Linked DNA regions of Homo sapiens: region 2 is linked to region 1. The links are contacts of gene promoters, found by promoter capture Hi-C in human tissues and cell types (Jung and others, 2019). All regions are on one chromosome and are shown on one strand. Each heading gives the region's core, a stretch centred on a gene start or on the middle of the fragment in contact. The rest is flanking DNA. Distances are from core to core; before and after follow the strand shown. Region 1 holds the start of LPAR1 (lysophosphatidic acid receptor 1). Region 2 overlaps SVEP1 (sushi, von Willebrand factor type A, EGF and pentraxin domain containing 1).

Evidence for each region. Contacts are between HindIII fragments. The study calls those that stand out against the background at their distance.
Region 2: a fragment that was not itself captured here is called in contact with the fragment with the promoter of LPAR1 in region 1 in 1 of the 25 tissues and cell types used here (mesenchymal stem cells).

Annotation. Positions count from the first base shown.
Region 1 is chr9:111,036,559-111,040,036 of GRCh38, forward strand. It overlaps LPAR1 (lysophosphatidic acid receptor 1), which reads right to left and starts at 1,912. Exons shown (of 6, transcript NM_001351411.2): 1 at 1,609-1,912. LOC124902248 (a long non-coding RNA gene) reads left to right here and starts at 370. Exons shown (of 2, transcript XR_007061732.1): 1 at 370-1,231; 2 at 2,897-3,478. RefSeq lists a silencer at 1,342-1,681. The HindIII fragment of the contact is 11,259 bases long and covers 1-3,478 here.
Region 2 is chr9:110,495,067-110,498,544 of GRCh38, forward strand. SVEP1 (sushi, von Willebrand factor type A, EGF and pentraxin domain containing 1) reads right to left here. Exons shown (of 48, transcript NM_153366.4): 8 at 1,749-1,867. Among named protein-coding and RNA genes, the nearest start is that of SVEP1, 83 kb to the right of the region's middle. The HindIII fragment of the contact is 5,309 bases long and covers 1-3,478 here.

The sequences.
Region 1 (3,478 bases), core at 662-3,161:
AGCTGGAAGGAACAGCAACGATCACCAACCCCTTCCATTTTCCGGATGGGGAGACGGAGACCAGGATCTGAGCTGACCCGACTGGCTGAGGTCGCGCCGCTAGGGGACGTGGTGTACCTTGCGGGCTCGGATGATGACAACCCAGCCTTCCCTCCTCGCTCCTCGCCCGTGCCTTCCTGCCTCAAGCTACCTCCTTCTCTTGCCACTTGGTGTTTTTATCCTCAAATCAGACAAGTATCAAGAAAAAAATGCAACCTTAATATACTTACAATGCTGATTATTATTCATAATTTTGCATTTGGGGCAATTATACTCGCTCCTACTGGGATATGGAAATCAAGGGCAGAAAGAACTAGGTGACATTCTACCTCCCTGTGTATTTTAATGATGTTTAGTTTGGTTCAAATAACCATACCTCTAAAATACACCCTTTTTCCTTGGGACCCACTCTTCTATCCGGCAAGGGAATAACTTCTTAAAAAACTTCGCATTTTCCAAGTGTACAGTCTCCCCTTAACCAGAACTGCAGACTCTGAATCACAGACCTCTGGCTTACCAATTATGCTTAGCTGAGCAAACACACTTATGCAAATACGTGAAAAACAAACTGTTAGAGCCTGAAGGAATAGAGGATTTCGCTGTGATCATCAATATGTGATCATCACATTTTCAATATTTATGTTTACCAATATCTATCTAACCCCATAGGAAACGACGCGTCCATAGTGAAACAAGCCAGCACCCACATTTATGAAAAAATCCACGGATTTCAACAAAAATGAAGAGAGGAGAGCAGAAGCGGAGAGCCACAACCTCAGGCCCCAGACAGCAGGCAGCAGCAAGTCCTGAATGCCTTCACTCTTAACATTGCAAAGACCAAATGGCAGCAAAGAAAAACAAGAATAAACTTTAAATCCATTCACCACAAAGGAGTCCTACGCAAGTCAAAGGAGCCGTCGATTTCAAAACCATCAACTTTCAAAGCCAGGTCCCTCCCTTGCCTTACAACCTCCTGTTACTTGTTAAGCACGTTTGTTAGGCGGCTGGACAGAAACTTAGTTAAAAGTCCTCAGCCCGGTGGTGGGGGACAACCGAGTCGTCAGTGGGAAGCGAGAGGTGCGGAGCCCCAGGGGCGCAGGGACCCCTCGGAGGTGCAAGTCCAGCGGGACGAGGTTTTGGGAGAATTTCGAGGGCCCCTCGCAAGCCCTCCCGCGCACCCACCCCGACCCAGGTAACCGGAGGCCACCTACGTGTCACTGGGCGGGCCCCGGGGCGCACTGACCTGGCGCGGGACAGGAGGGCCGGCGGCCCGGGCGGCTGCGGCAACTTCCCTCCAGGGGCTCGGTCCGCCGCTGGGTGCGGGAGGCCAGGGGAGCCTCGCCTCCTGCAGGCCGGCTCGCAAGAACGCACGGCCACCCACCCGCGCCGCGGCCCACAGCGCGCACCCACACTCTCACTGGCACTCGCACGCGCGCCCCCAACCACAAAGCCCGTCCGCGGCGGGACAGTGTGAGCCCAGCGCGCCGTGTGGCGGGCCGAGCAGTCGCCGCGGCCTCTGGCTTCGCGCCCAGGGGGCGCCGTCCCCACACGCCGCGCCGGCCCCCTTACCTGCGCTCGCTGCCGCCGCGCGTCCCTCTCCTGCCGCCCCCGGGCTGGCTTCAGGCCGCGCGCCCAGTCCCGGCGGCCCCCGCCCCACCGCCAGCCGAGCCCGGCCCTCCGCCCGCCCCTCGGCAGTCGCCCAGAGCGGGGCCGCCCCCTGCGCCCACCCCGCCGGGGTCCCGTGCTCGGCCGGGCGGCGGGGAGGGCTCCGCGGCTCCGGGCCCTGGCCGCCCCAGATCCGGCCCGCGCTCCGCAGCGGGGCTGGAGACGGAGTCGCCACTCAGGGAGCGTCAGCCGCCAGTCGGCCCCTACTGCCCGGCTTTGGCGCGCTGGCAGGAGGAGGGGGCGCAGAGGGAGGGCCAGAGGAGCAGCGCCGACGCCAGCCTCCTCTCTTCCTCCGCCTTCCTTCTTTTCTGCTTGTTCCACGTAGCACAAGTCAGCAACACCCGAACCCCCAGAGTCCGCCCTCCCCGCTCCCAAGCTGGACCCCTTACCTGGTGTGGCGCCCCCAGCGCCCCTGACCTCTGCGCCCCCTCCTCCATTCATTGGCTCGACAGCCCACGGTGGTGGCAGGGCCGGGGCTGGGGGGTGGCCTTAGCCTCCCATTCATTATCTCAGCAGCCTCCCCCGCCCCGCCCCCGAGTCGACACACCCGCAGCGGGAGACCCGTGGCCGCCAGCTCGGGTCCCACCCCCGCCCCTCCTGCGCTTACCCCAGCGCCGGACAGCTGGCAGGACTCCGGTGGACGCCCCGGCACGGGGCATTTTCACGTTGTCGCTCTCCTCTTCCCACTCGAAAAGCTCTGGAAAACATCGCGGGGCCCGCAAAACCCCGGAAATGTGGCCTCTCTTTCGTGGCTCACTTTCTAAACTTTCCAGAAGGCGCAAAGTTTCTCCCAGCGCCGCCCTGCACTGGAGGCTGCGAAGAACGCAGAAGCGGCTTTGCTGCTAGGAAGGTGCATACGTTTCTAGTTCTGATTTTTCACTTCACTGGATCTGTAAACGAAAGCAAGTGTGTCTGCTCCCCTAGTTCTCCATATCCACGATTATAAATTTCTCTTCCGCTTTCCCAGTGTAGCTTTGCAAGTGTAAACTATCAATTTTAGTGAGAGTAATTAAGGGCGGGGACTGCACACCTGGAGGTGTGGGTGGGAGCGGCGCGGGACTAAGGCCTAGGGAACATTCTCAGGAGAGTGGCAGCCACAGGGATTCGCCCAGGTCTTATAACACACCCACTCGATGGGGTCTCCCTAGCCACGCCACCTCACAACACCCATCTCCCACTTCTGGCTTCCCAGGATTTCCGGAGTGATCACAATTATCGGCCTCTCGCTCCACAGCTAAGGCCACCGCATATCAAAAATAGCAGCGTGTGAGTAAAAGTTTCATGAGCCCTCGCCTTGAAATGGCACAGAGGACACAGCACACCAGCAGTAAGGCATGGGGACTCGGCAGGACTGATCTGATTGAGAGAAACGCAGGACAGCGAGGCGGGGCTATGTTGGTGGTGGCCACCAGGTAACCGTGGGCTTTGCAGAAGAGAAAGGTCACTGCAAACCGTAGCTGGACGGAAACTTTTCAAGCCTCAAGTGAGTTATGCTGTGACGGGACCATGACCATCTCCCACCGGTGACTGCTTAGAACCTTGACCAAGCTCGTGTGGTTTTCACAGGATGCTCAGGGCTGAGTCCTGGCTGTAAATAATTTACTATCTAAAGCTGTTTCCTTTTAAAAACAATGGTTCTAATCTTTTTTTTAAAAAAAATCATTCAAATCTTTTTTAAAAATCCACTTTAAATAACTTTGCTTTCTATACCTTTCCTACGAATATATGATTTATTTTATAACCTACTATGTGAAAAAATTGAAATTTTAGTACA
Region 2 (3,478 bases), core at 702-3,201, 540 kb before region 1:
TTTAGTTACGCTTCAGGTTTGATCACTTTCTGAACAGAAGCCATTCACAATGAATTGCCCCCTCTTTTCCTTGTATATTCAACTTCTCCATCTCAATTGGTTCTCTCCATTTCTATTTTTATTCTTTTAAGCACATTCAAGTTCTTCCCCCATGTAGTAGGCTGAATAACGGCCCCCCCAAAGATCATCCATGTTCTAATCCCTGGAACCTGTGAACACGTTGCCTTACATGGTAAAAGGGACTTAGCAGACACGACTAAATTAAGAATCTTAAAATTAGGAGATTCTCCTGAGTTATCCAGATGGGTTCAATGTAATCTCAAGGGTCCTTATAAGGGGAAGGCAGGAGGGTCAGAGTGAAAAGAAAAAGATGTGGTGGAAATATCACACATGAGAGACTGTTCAACACACAAACCACCTAAAGTGCATTCAGCCCTAGAAATCACATTTGCCCTTTTCAAATCAGATTTAAAAGCTACCTTGATTGTAAGTATATTCAACACAATGATCGGAACAGCTATTTTTTCTATGTTGCGCTCTGCATCCCCCCCGCCGCCCCCAGTGTATCCTGATTGGTCCAACTTATATATATTTACAGGTAAGTGTAGAAATAACATAATATTTAAGTGCATCTTAATGTATATGAATACTAACCATGTACATATAAGAGGAAGTAAAATTCCTAAATGAACTATTTTTCTAACATCTGATGGATTATTTCAAGCTACTATACAAAGAAAATTAAAATACTGTGTTCTGAATAATGCTGGATTCAGACAAGCTTGAAGAAGAAACACCAGTGCTATCTCTTTCTGACTGAAAAATACACAATCATTTTGGGCCCATATTTTAAAAGATAGGTTCATAAATAGCAATTAGGATTGAGTCCACATCTTTTCTTTTCTTAAAAGATCCTCAGAACCTAGTAAAGGGCAAAGAATTCTTCGTCAAGTAATCTTAGTGGCTACAATAATACAACAAATCCATAGAATGAAAAGTTTCTGGTTTTGAGGATTTTATCTGAGATTTCTAATTAAAAATTCAAGGTTGATCATTATTCTGTCAGATGCCGCATTCACATTTACGAGTAGAGTTCATACACAAAGAGTATTGTGATGGTTAATATTGAGCGTCAACTTGATTGGATTGAAGGATACGAAGTATTGTTCCTGGGTGTGTCTGTGAGGATGTTGCCAAAGATTAACATTTGAGGAGGACTGGGAGAGGCAGACCCACCCTCAGTCTGGGTGGGCACCATCTAATCAGCTGCCACCTTGGCTAGAATAAAGCAGGCAGAGGAAGGTGAGAAGAGCAGACCTGCTGAGTCTTCCAGCCTTCATCTTTCTCCCGTGCTGGCTGCTTCCTGCCCTTGAACATCAGACTCCAAGTTCTTCAGCTTTTGGACTTTTGTACTTATATCAGTGGTTTGCCAGGAGTTCTTGTGCCTTTGGCCACTAACTGAAGGCTGCACTATCGGCTTCCCCACTTCTGAGGTTTTGGGACTTGGACTGACTTCCTTGCTCCTCACCTTGCAGATGGCCTATTGTGGAACTTCACCTTGTGATGGTGTGAGTCAATAGTCCTTAATAAACTCACTTTCATATATACATCTATCCTATTAGTTCTGTCCCTCTAGAGAACCCTAATACAAGTATTACCATGAGCATATTAGTAAGTCTTCAACACACATATCTGCAGTATATTTAGAATTCATTTGAAAAGGATGCACATAATTGCACAAACCTTACCTTTTCACCAGAGTTGTCTTTAGCTGTTGGAATCTGCCAGGTAACATTGGCAGAATCTTGCTGTTCCAGAGTCTTAGCCTCTATGTCCTTAGGACAGTTGATTTGAGGAGCCTCCACGTCTAACTCAGAAAAATACACAAGTAGATTAATACACTGATATGTGGTCCTAGATCATTTAAGGAAGAGGTACAAATCTAGTTATATTAATACACTGTGACACATTTGTACATCCCAGTTACTGATTGTTCGGAATCTGCACCCACCTGCTTTCCTGATCATTTATCTCAGCATGGCTTACGAGCCCAATCTTGAACTAGTACCTATTAACCTCTTAGCCTCATTTCTTCCTTTTCTCCTACAGGAATTCACTCTCCACATTGAGTTACTGTCAGGCCATTGCCTTTCTTTTACCTGGGCCCTTACCTATGTTCTTTTATTTGCCTGAATTAGTGCCCTCTTCTCCCTTTACCTGGATGTCTAGTACTTGCTCTTGAACAGGCTTAGACACAGCTCCTCAGGAAGCTCTTGCTGATTCTCCAGGCCCATTTGAGGTCCCCACTCCACAAGTTCCCATAGCCCTCTGGATTTCCCAACCATAAAACTCAACAAGCTATTTTGAAATTGAATTTTCTCCCCCAATAGAATTTAAGTTATTTGAAGGTCAGGATGTCTTGCCCCACTGTCTTATATGGTACCTGACATATCATAGGAGCTTGAGAAATATTTTTTGAATGAACTAAATTAAAAAATGTTGACTGTGACAGGAAGAAACTACACTTGAAAATGAGGCTGTCAACTAGAATTAACTAGCAGAAACTGAAACGTACTGTCAAAGCAAGCAACAAATTAAAGCCAATGATATTTTTTACTTTATACTATGGTGCTGAATTAGACGTGCTAACGTTACACAGATGCACGCCAGTTATGGTAGTGCTTAAGCTTTTGTTATATGATAAAATACATCTTTTATTTTAATTTATGTTAAATTAGGTCTTCTGTAACTTCTGGCTGAATATATCTGAATTGATCTCATTGTGTCTCACGTCTTCTTGTTTCTTCAAAATTTAATTCAATTTATATTTTCTCTTTCTCAAAGGGGCTTATACTTGGACAACTCTCTCCCACAGGAAGACATAATAGCATATTAACTCTGAAAAAATTTTTAAAAAGTATTTGATTTTTCATTCATGCTTAAACAATAGCTTGACTGGACCTGGAATCTAAAGTTTATATTTATTTGCTCTCCATATCCTGTACACATTGCTACATTTCCTTGTGGCATTTAAAGTTGTAAATGAAATAGGTAACGTGAGTCTAATTCTTGTTTCTTTTGTGCAATTTCTTTCTTTCTCCATGAAAAGTTATTTAAGATTTTTCCATTAACTCTGCAACTCAGAAATTTCACTAGGAGTAGTCAAAGTATGCCAACCCAACACTCAGGAGTTATTTGTGGTCTAAAGGATTAAGCCATTCTCTAGCTCAGAGAAATTTTCTTCTCTTGGTAGAGAAATTTTTCTCCATCTCCTCTCCTCTCTCCTTCTGGAACTCCTTATTAAATGGACATTGGGGTTTTTCCTTCTGCCACTGGCATCCCTCAACTTCCATCTTTTTGGTTTGATCAATTGGGAAATTCAAGCACTTTCTTTGTTTACTCATTCAGTTCTCCATTGTGAGGAAACTCTCAGTTTGGTCTTTTAAATTACTAATATAGTTTTCAACAGCATTCCTTC